Linked DNA regions of Homo sapiens: region 2 is linked to region 1. The links are contacts of gene promoters, found by promoter capture Hi-C in blood cells and fetal thymus (Javierre and others, 2016). All regions are on one chromosome and are shown on one strand. Each heading gives the region's core, a stretch centred on a gene start or on the middle of the fragment in contact. The rest is flanking DNA. Distances are from core to core; before and after follow the strand shown.

Evidence for each region. Contacts are between HindIII fragments. The CHiCAGO score rates a contact against its expected background, and 5 or more counts as called.
Region 2: the fragment with the promoter of PPP1R14D here is called in contact with the fragment with the promoter of EXD1 in region 1 in 6 of 17 cell types (M1 macrophages, endothelial precursors, naive CD8 T cells and 3 more); the score reaches 6.1 in M1 macrophages.

The regions. Positions count from the first base shown.
Region 1 is chr15:41,228,850-41,233,694 of GRCh38, reverse strand. It overlaps EXD1 (exonuclease 3'-5' domain containing 1), which reads left to right and starts at 2,938. Exons shown (of 12, transcript NM_001286441.2): 1 at 2,938-3,216. CHP1 (calcineurin like EF-hand protein 1) reads right to left here and starts at 2,427. Exons shown (of 7, transcript NM_007236.5): 1 at 2,246-2,427. The coding sequence starts at 2,312. RefSeq lists enhancers at 2,584-2,643, 2,664-2,733 and a silencer at 2,854-2,913. The HindIII fragment of the contact is 6,181 bases long and covers 1-4,766 here.
Region 2 is chr15:40,826,324-40,831,534 of GRCh38, reverse strand. It overlaps PPP1R14D (protein phosphatase 1 regulatory inhibitor subunit 14D), which reads left to right and starts at 2,827. Exons shown (of 4, transcript NM_017726.8): 1 at 2,827-3,148. The coding sequence starts at 2,894. RefSeq lists a silencer at 5,030-5,211 and an enhancer at 5,030-5,211. The HindIII fragment of the contact is 4,675 bases long and covers 1-3,262 here.

The DNA.
Region 1 (4,845 bases), core at 1,689-4,188:
ATGTCATGATGCTAATCATAACTCTCTTGGGCTTATCTCCCCAACCAGGTTGGGGGCGTTTTTTGTCACCATCTGCTCTGAGTACCTAGCACAGTACTGAACAGACACTGTAAAAATTCAGTAAGCACTTGTTTCACTAAGCATTCTGGCTCAATACATACATTTGCACTGGTTGTGGAGAGAATCTCCCTCACAAGTGACTCACTCTTTGGCAATGGGGAAAACAGCTTTTCCATGAGCACTTAGTTGTTTGTCCACAAGCCACATGGTAAAAATATCCCATCCAGGTCATTTCCATTTGGTCAAATGTATATAAACCAGAATGGGATTACTGCTCCCTTCATTCTGAAGCAAAAATGGCTTTTTGCATCTTCACTATGGTTTACACTTTCTCATTATGTGACTCTATATTTATTTCTCTTTGATTCTGCTTATTTCTCCATGTGACTCTTTAACACAAATACTTTAATTCGGTGTCACCCTAGACCTAAAGTAGTACTAATTACAAATGTGGCCAGAAGTTATGGCCACAAAACGTAATAAAATGCTTGTTGAATCCAAACTGCTTGCGTCTCCACTCCGAGGGTCAGAGTAAGTCAGTGGCCAAACAAGTACTGCAAATTATAAAGAGCTAACTACTTTGGGTCATTCAAATCGTGAAAAGGACTGCCTTGGTAGGTGGAGAGGTTACCATCATTAAATGTCTTTACAGAGAGGCTTAAGGGCCATATTTTAGGGGAGGCTGAAAGAAGCAAACCAGTCCAGAAAGGGGTGGGGCTAGAAAACATCCCTTCCAACTTGAAAACTCCAGAAAGTTGAACTTGTCACAAAGCAGAGAACAGCACTTAAACAGGCCTGAAAAATTCTGTAGTTCCCCATAGCACTCCTCAGTACTATCTGCATATGGGCCGGAGTGAGTTACTGGTCATGTCATTATCAAAGACAAGTATGATGAAGAGACAGAGCTCAGGTGCTACATCCTTCATTAACTCAATAAGAATCATAAAGGTTTACTGAAAAGATAAAATATTGTATGCATCAATACAATTGTATCATACATTGCATTATCAAGGACTATTCAAAGTTATGATGGTATTTTACAGCGCTTCAGAATCCCGAGTCCTTTTGCTCCTTTGTTCAGACTAATGAGGAAGAGACTGGACTATAAAAAAAAAAATCAGTTCTGCAGGGCACGGTGGCTCACACCTGTAATCCCAGCACTTTGGGAGGCCGAGGTGGGTGGATCACTTGAGGTCAGGAGTTCGAGGCCAGCCGGGCCAACATAGTGAAACCCCATCTCTACCAAAAATACAAAAATTAGCCAAGCGTGGTGGCAGGCACCTGTACTCCCAGCTACCTGGGAGGCTGAGGCAGGAGAACTGCTTGAACCTGGGAGGCGGAAGTTGCAGTGTGCCGAGATCACGCCACTGCACTCCAGCCTGGTTGACAGAGGGAGACTCCGTTTCAAAAAAAAAAAAAAAAAAAATCAGTTCCTAGTACAAATTCACACGGAGATTTTTGGAGCACATCCAATTTCAATAGCGAATAAAAAAGTACACCAGCATAGTAGAAATCAATACATATATGAGATTAGGACAGCAAGTATCGTCGTGTAAGTAAAAAACTGGTGGTCACAGTATCCGTGTTTTTTCTCTAGAAGTTCAGATTGAAAGAAGTCTCACAATCCCAGACCCCTGATTGTTTAAAGGTCTCCAGGCATCGGGTCATGTCTCCCAAAGCCTTACTACACGGTCTTGCTTTCTGGGTGGTTTTCCCAATTTGTGACAAGAACTTGTTTGTAATTTCCCATAGTTGTCAGAGGTTTTAGGTCCTTACCCAGAAACGGATTTTCTACAGAATCCATCTCGAGTTCCTGAATTTGCTTCTCGGGCTTTACCTACTGTTCAGGATGCCTCTTCATAGGGAAGGGTGGTGCGAGGCAACAGAAAGGAAAGGAGTTCGGGGACTTTGATGGGCAGGGTGCAGAAAAGGGGGGCGTCGACGCTCTACGAGTGATCAAGAGTCCCGATTTTGAAGGGAAGGACAGCCCCACAGTAGCTAGAGCCCCGCTCCAGGAAGCTGCAGCTGGAAGAACAGGTCTTCCAGCTCTCGGTCCCCAAACCTGGAGGCTGCCCAGGACCCCCCAACCTCACAGGCACCCGAGCTCCAGACCTTAGCGACAGCCGCCCTTGGTTGTGAGGCCAGCCTGAGGCGCCCGGCGTTCCCACCCCCAACCCGAACTCACAGCCGGTCTCCTTCTTGATCTCCTCGAGCTCTTCGTCCCGCAGTAACGTGGAGGCCCGAGAACCCATCGCCGTGCCGGGAGCTCCTCCGGGAGCAGCGGCGCCAGAAGAGACGGCGACAGGAGGGAAGGAGGGAGGGAAGGAAGGGCTAGGGGTCAAGAAGGGAGAGGGCAGTGTTTCCACTGCGGACCCGGGAGGGAACCCAGGGGTGGTGCGCTGGGGAGGGCGGCCCCGAGGACCCGCCAATCAGGCGCGAGGCAGCGCCCGGCTCAGGAGCCAACGTCAGCGTTCGAGTTCCAGCCCCGAATGAATCAGCCCAGCTCCAGCCCAAGTCCTGCTGAAGACGGACCCCGCCCCCGGAACCGCAGCTGCCACCGGCCTTAAAGGGGCGATGCCACTCGGTCGCTAACGACGCAATTAAAAGGGCAACGTCATTGACCAACAGTTTTACAACAAACTAACCTGCGACAGGCAGCGTAGTCTACCTTTTCTCACAGGAATCGAACACTAGGAATCCTACTCGATAGGTGGCACGGATTGCGGAGAGAAACTTCGCGTGGGGGGGAACCCTAGGGTGTACCCTTCGGGGACTGCACGCGCTCTTCATCTTTCCTGGCTGCCGTCCTCCTCCCGGCCGCAGGGGGCGCTGGGGAGCCGGCCTCGGGGCCGCGTGCTGATTGGCTCCTCGGGAAACAGACGAGACTGGACGTTGGGCCGGGCGGGCGTCGCCTCTGCGGCGTGTGTCCCCGGCGTCGCGGACCTTTCTCCAGGTTTTCAGCCTGTGATTTGATAACCGCCGCCGGGTGGCGTGGAGCGTCCCGAGACTTCTTCCTTCATTGCAGCCCCTCTTCTTTTAGTTCTAGACTGAAGTTCGAGGAACGCACCACTTGGCTGAAATTAGGATCCAGATTTCCCAAACTTCCTTCGGAGGAAAAAGCCCTAACGATGGAGGACAGTGAATTCCTAGCTTATGGTCCGCCATTTATTTGAAGTTCCTTATTTTGTCTTAAAAATGAGAAATTTTGCATTTTATTCTCATGGTGTATTGTTTGTTTTGATTAAAAAGGTAGGCCTGGCACGGTGGCTCACGCCTGTAATCCCAGCACTTTGGGAGGCCGAGGTGGGCAGAACACCTGAGGTCGTGAGTTCGAGACCAGCCTGACCAATATGGAGAAACCCCATCTCTAATAAAAATACAAAATTATCCGGGTGTGGTGCCGCGTGCCTGTAATCCCAGCTACTCGGGAGGCTGAGGCAGGAGAATCGCTTGAACCCGGGAGGCGGAGGTTGCAGTGAGCCGAGATCGCGGCATTGCTCTCCAGCCTGGGTGACAGAGCAAGACTCCGTCTCAAAAAAAAAAAAAAAAAAAGGTAAAAGCCACCCGTTAAATTAGTGCCTACTCTCAGGTGAACCAGTTCTTACTGCTTCACCTGCCTTACCCCTTCACACCTGTTTGGTTAGAACACGTATAAGATAAGGAAGAACCGAATTCTGACTGCTGTTAGTACCCAAGTACCAGGATATTTTTGTCGTAGCAGGCTTTCCCAGGTCAACTTAAGTTACTAGTTTTAAGTGTTACCTAAGGCTTTACAGCTTAGCCTGAGGCCCCACACGTTCCCTGCAAGCTGAGGTTCTAGTTTGAAGAACTAGAGTTTTGTTTGTTTGTTGTTGTTGTTGTTGTTTGAGACGGAGTTTTTGCTCTTCTGCCCAGGCTGAAGTGCAAAGGCGCCATCTCAGCTCACCGAAACTTCCGCCTCCCGGGTTCAAGCGATTCTCCTGCCTCAGACTCCCTAGTAGCTGGGGTTACAGGCATGCGCCACCGTGTCCAGCTAATTTTGTATTTTTAGTAGAGACAGGGCTTCTCCATGTTGGTCAGGCTGGTCTCGAACTCCGTATCTCAGGTGATCTGCCCGCTTCAGCCTCCCAAAGTGCTGTGATTACAGGCGTGAGCCACCGCACCTGGCTTGTTTTGTTTTTTTGCGACAGAGTCCGGGCTGGAGTGCAATGGCCTGATCACTGTGCATTTTCGGCTCACTGCAACCTCCAGGCGGGTTCAAGGGATTATCATGCCTCAGCCTCCTGAGTAGCTGGGATTACAGGCGCGTGCCACCACGCCCAGCTAATTTTTGTATTTTTAGTAGAGACAGGGTTTCACCATATTGTCTAGGCGGGTCTCAAACTCCAGAACTCAGGTGATCCACCCGCCTCGGCCTCCCAAAGTGTTGGGATTACAGGCGTGAGTCCCCGTGCCCGGCCTTAGAGTTATTTTTATGATTGTCGTGCACTTGTCTAACCTAGTGATGTTGTCCTTTGTACTCAGTAACATTTTGGATATGCCCGTCTAAGAGCTAAATCACTGGAGCTGCTTTGTATGTTGGAATATGGCTGTGATAGGAAAATTTTGTCAGCCCCATGAATGTCCCTTTTCTCAGTCAGCCTTGAAGCCCATCTCTTGATGCTGACCTTACTTTTTTCCTTCCTAATCTTGAATCTTAGTGTTTGCAGCTGTCTCCAGTCAAAGCTTTCTTTGCTTCATGTTAGTATTTTTTTCTGACTTTAATTTTTTTTTCTTTAATGTTTCTCTAATTCTCTTATTTTCCAG
Region 2 (5,211 bases), core at 1,578-4,077, 400 kb after region 1:
GAGGTTTCACCATGTTGACCAGGCTGGTCTGAAACTCCTGACCTCAGGTGATCCACCCACCTCAGCCTCCCAAACTGTTGGGATTACAGGTGTGAGCCACCGTGCCTGCCCTTTGTTTAGTTTTTACAGAGACAAGGTCTCACTATGTTGATCAGGCTGGTCTTGAACTCCTGACTTCAAGCAATCTTCTCGCCTCAGCCTCCCAAAGTGCTGGGATCACAGGTGTGACCCACCGTGCCCATCCTGTGGCTCTTGAATAACCACTGAGCATAATGTTTGGCCTACCAGGGGAGCTCATAAAATCTTTGTTAAATGAGTGAGTAAATAAATGAACAAAACACAGTGACTCTTCTCATCTAGTTTCTTTTCCCGAAAGGGCTCTCAAACCCTTCAGAAGATAGGAAACAGAAGAGGCAGGGAACTACCATAATAATGCCTCCTGGCCACAGACTGTTAAAGTGACAGCTGAGTCAACAAGATGCATCCTAGAGGCCCCCCTCCTCCTGCTCAGGAAGAGAGCCACACTGATGAAAGCCCAGGCATTGACCACCAGAGCCTCGCCAGGAGGGCAGGGAGAGTGGGGAGGTAAATAAAGGACAGGAATGAATGTCTACTGACAGGGACTCTGTTTCAGATGCCATGCTAAATGTTTACATGCATCATCTCATTTTATCTTCCCAACAAGCCCAATCTGCAGATGTGAAAACAGGCTATGAAACTTGGCCAAGGATTATAAAACCAATGCAGGGCAAAGCTGAGTTGAACTCAGATTGTCAGCCTTCCTCCAAAGCCTGGGCTTTTCCTGGCTGCCATCTTAGTTTCCAGCCACTCAAACACCTCCCTTATCTTCTTAAGTGAGGGCCTAAAATTTCATCATTAAACTGTCATCCATTCGCCTTTTTCCTTTTTTGAGACAGGGTCTTGCTCTGTCACCCATGCTTAAGTGCAGTGTTGCCATTGTAGCTCACTGTAGCCTTGAACTCCTGGGCTGAAGTGATTTTCCCACCTTCCAAGCAGCTAGGATGACAGGTGTGCACCACCATATCTGAGTAATCTTGCTTTTCATTTTTTACTTTTTTTTTTTTTTTTTTTTTGAGACGGGGTCTTGCTCTGTCACCCAGGCTGGAGTGCAGTGGCATGATCTCGGCTCACTGCAACCTCCGCCTCCTGGGCCCAGGCGATTCTCCTCCCTCAGCCTCCTGAATAGTTGGGGCTACAGACGTGTGCCACCACGCCCGGCTAATTTTTGTATTTTTAGTAGAGACAGGGTTTTGCCATGTTGGCCAGGCTGATCTCAAACTCCTGACCTCAAGTCATCTGTCCACCTCAGCCTCCCAAAGTGCTGGGATTACAGGCATGAGCCACCGTGCCTGGCCCATTGTTTACATTTTTTAATGGAGACAAGATCTCACTGTGTTGCCCGGACTGGTCTTGAACTACTGGCCTCAAGCAATCTTCCCGCCTGGGTCTCCCAAAGCAGCTAATTTTTTGTATTATTATTATTTTTTTTTTTGGTAGAGAGAGAATTTCACCATTTTGCCCAGGCTGGTCTTGAACTCCTGAGCTCAAGCAATCCACGCGCCTCGGCCTCCCAGAGTGCTGGGATTACAGGCGTGAGCCACCATGCCTGGCCCCATTTTAAAAAAATTACAGGCTGGGCACGGTGGCTCACTCCAGTAATCCCACCACTTTGGGAGGCCGAGGCGGGTGGATCATGAGGTCAGGCATTTGAGACCAGCCTGGGCAACATAGTGAAACCTCGTCTCTACTAAAAATACAAAAAATTATCCGGGCATGGTGGTGGGCGCCTGTAATCCCAGCTTCTTGGGAGGCTGAGGCAGGAGAATTGCTTGAACTTGGGAGGCGGATGTTGCAGTGAGCCAAGATCGCAGCATTGCCCCCCAGCCTGGGTGACAGTGCGAGACTCCATCTCAAAAAAAAAAAAAAAAAAATTACAGTGTTCTTCTGTCACTTTTTTTTTTTAAAGTTTAGAAATTTTCATTATAAAAGACTAAACAAAAATACCCTGCCTTAGAATGCAAGTATGTATGCCTGGAAGTATTAGTCCCTGACACCTGTGTATAAGTTAGGTTTGCAGGTTTCCTCTGTGTCAGCAAATACATGAATCGGGGGAGGGTCACGTGGTAATAAACATGGCTTCCTAAGCAGTTGCCTCAGGGGAGCGGGCATAGTAGACAAGTCTTGATAAATTTGCCTTTACAAGCAGGTAAACTGCCTTTATAGGCCAGGCTGATAGCAGTTTACATTCGGACACACCCAGACACTGGGGGCACTGGTCCTACGGGAGCCATCAATAACTGACCTCCAACTCTATCTACCAGCTGGGGCTCTGCCCCCAGTAGTGCTACGCTCTGAGTAAGAATCCCTGCCAGCCAGGGACCCTGCTTCTGCGGAATCTGACCACAGCTTCTCAGAGCCCAGAGTGGATCCAGCCCCAGGAAGGTGGGATACAGAGGGATCTCAGGTGAGAACGACTCAGGTCCCATTCCAGAGCTGGCCATAGAGCAGCGATTGGAGCCCTGTACCCTTCAGGACCCCAGGGCCCCTTCCTCCTCCCTGGGCATGGCAGCCTCTTGACCTTTGCTCATCTGCAGTTTATGCCACTTTGGGCCCTAGAAGCTGCAGAAAGGGAGGCTGGGGCATGGCTCTGGAGTGCCACTCACTGGCTGGCAGTGAGGAGCCAGGAGACTGGCATTCCCAGCACCAAAGTCCTATTGATCTTTGCCCTTGCCCCTCCCTGGGAGCCTTGGCCCTCCTCCTGCCTTCATTTCTTCTCTGCTGGCCTCTCCTGTTCTCTGTCTCCTCACTTCCCTCTGTGGCTCTGCTCAGAACTGGCGGTTTTTCCCAGCTCCTTGCCCAGACCAATACTTCCATGCTGTCTTCAAGCCCTGCTTCCTGCACATCTCCCAGCCCAGATGGGGAGAACCCATGTAAGAAGGTCCACTGGGCTTCTGGGAGGAGAAGGACATCATCCACAGACTCAGAGTCCAAGTCCCACCCGGACTCCTCCAAGATACCCAGGTCCCGGAGACCCAGCCGCCTGACAGTGAAGTATGACCGGGGCCAGCTCCAGCGCTGGCTGGAGATGGAGCAATGGGTGGATGCTCAAGTTCAGGAGCTCTTCCAGGTAGGTAGCACAGCGGATAGTGGGAGGAGATGGGGGCCTGGGGTCCACCCAGGGCACTGAGACCTTCACAGGAGCTGGAGGGCTGATGTGAGGTGCTTCCGTGAAGAGAAAGCTTTTGTAACTGATGAAAGAAAGAAGCATCGGTTTGAAGTCCAGAAGTCTGCCTCCCTCTAGGCTTGTCTGTGCCTCTAATGCTCTTTGTGATCTGGGGAAGGTCTTTTAACATCCCTAATCTATAATAGGGCTGTTAGTGCCTGTCATATCTCCTTTATAGGACTTTCTGAGGCTCAAATGAGACAATAGAAGGGAAAATGCTTGGTCACACTATGTTTCAAAATTTTATATCTTTATTTACTCCCATGTTCAATGCACATACATGTCCGGAGCTACATTTTCGTTTCTTTTCTTTTTCTTTGTTTCTTTCTTTCTTTCTTTCTTTTGTTTTTTGTTTGTTTGTTTGTTTTTGAGACAAAGTCTTGCCCTGTTGCACAGGCTGGAATGCAGTAGTGCAATCTCAGCTCACTGCTCTGCCTGCTGGGTTCAAGCCATCCTCCCACTTCAGCCTCCTGAGTAGCTGGGACTACAGGTGCGCACCACCACGCCTGGCAAATTTTTTTGTATTTTTTTTTGTAGAGACGGCTTTTCACCATGTTGCCCAGGCTGGTCTTGAACTCCTTGGCTCAAACAGTCTGCCTGCCTCGGCCTCTCAAAGTGCTGGGATTACAGGTGTGCACCACCATGCCCAGCCTAGAGCTACATTTTCCAATTCTGTAGCCATCAGCCATGTGTAGCTGTTTGACTTTAAATGAGTTATAATTAAATAAAATTATTCAGTTCCCCAGTCACATGGGCCACATTTCTTTTTTCTTTTGCCTTTTTTTGAGACAGTCTTACTCTGTAAACCAGCCTGGAGTGCAATGCCGTGATTTTGGCTCACTGCAACCTCCGCCTCCCAAGTTCAAGCGATTCTCCTGCCTCAGCCTCCCGAGTAGCTGGGATTACAGGCATGCGCCACTGTGCCCGACTAATTTTGTATTTTTAGTAGAGACGGGGTTTCTCCATGTTGGTCAGGCTGGTCTCGAACTCTCGACCTCAGGTGATCTGCCCACCTCAGCCTCCCAAAGTGCTGGGATTACAGGCGTGAGCCACCGCACCCAGCCAACATGGGCCACATCTCAAGTGTTAAATAGCCCCATGTGGCTAGTGACTACTATGTTGTCAGCACAAATATAGAATATTTTCGTTATTTCAGAATGGACAGTGCGGGACTAGAATGTTAAGAGTAACCAAAGTTGAGTGCCAATACCAGGACCTAAGCAATCTTTGACCCTGGCTCTGACTAACACTCTTCAACCCCACTCTGGGAAAAGGACAGGTCTTGGTCCCTGGTTACTGGAAACGGCACTTTCTTACTTATATACCTTTAAACCTGGATTCTAGAGAGGTAAGAACTGCTGTTCCAGCAATAAGAATAACATTCTGAACACAACTACGTGCTAGGCTCAATGCCAGGCACTGACATGCATTCTTTCATTTAATCCTTCCCACAACTCCATTAAGCAAGTACTGTTTTTCTTTTTTTATAGAGATGAGATCTTGCTATGTTGCCTAGGTTGGTCTTGAACTCCTGGGCTCGAACGATCCTCCAATCTTGGCTTCTCAAAATGCTGGGATTACAGGTGTGAGCCACCATGCCTGGCCAGCAGGTACTGCTTTACAGCTGAGGGAATGGAGGTTTACAGATGTTGAGTAACTTGCCCAAGGTCACACAACTAGGAAACCTTGGGACCAGGTGTGGAGCCTGGCCACTTATTTGAGCAGCCAATGGTTCTCCACACTTGAAATACTTAAGAAAAAAAACAGATGCCCTGGCTCCTCCTCAACTGAATTTAAATCTACTACAGTGGAGTCCAGATACTGGGCATTTTTTAAAAGCCCCACAGTTGGTTCTAATGTGTGGCTGGGCTGAGAACCATACGCCAAGCTAGTCAGGAGTTCAAAATATGTTGTCCTTGTTTCTCTTTCTTGTTGACTCAGATCCTATCTTTTTGGAGCAGCAGGGC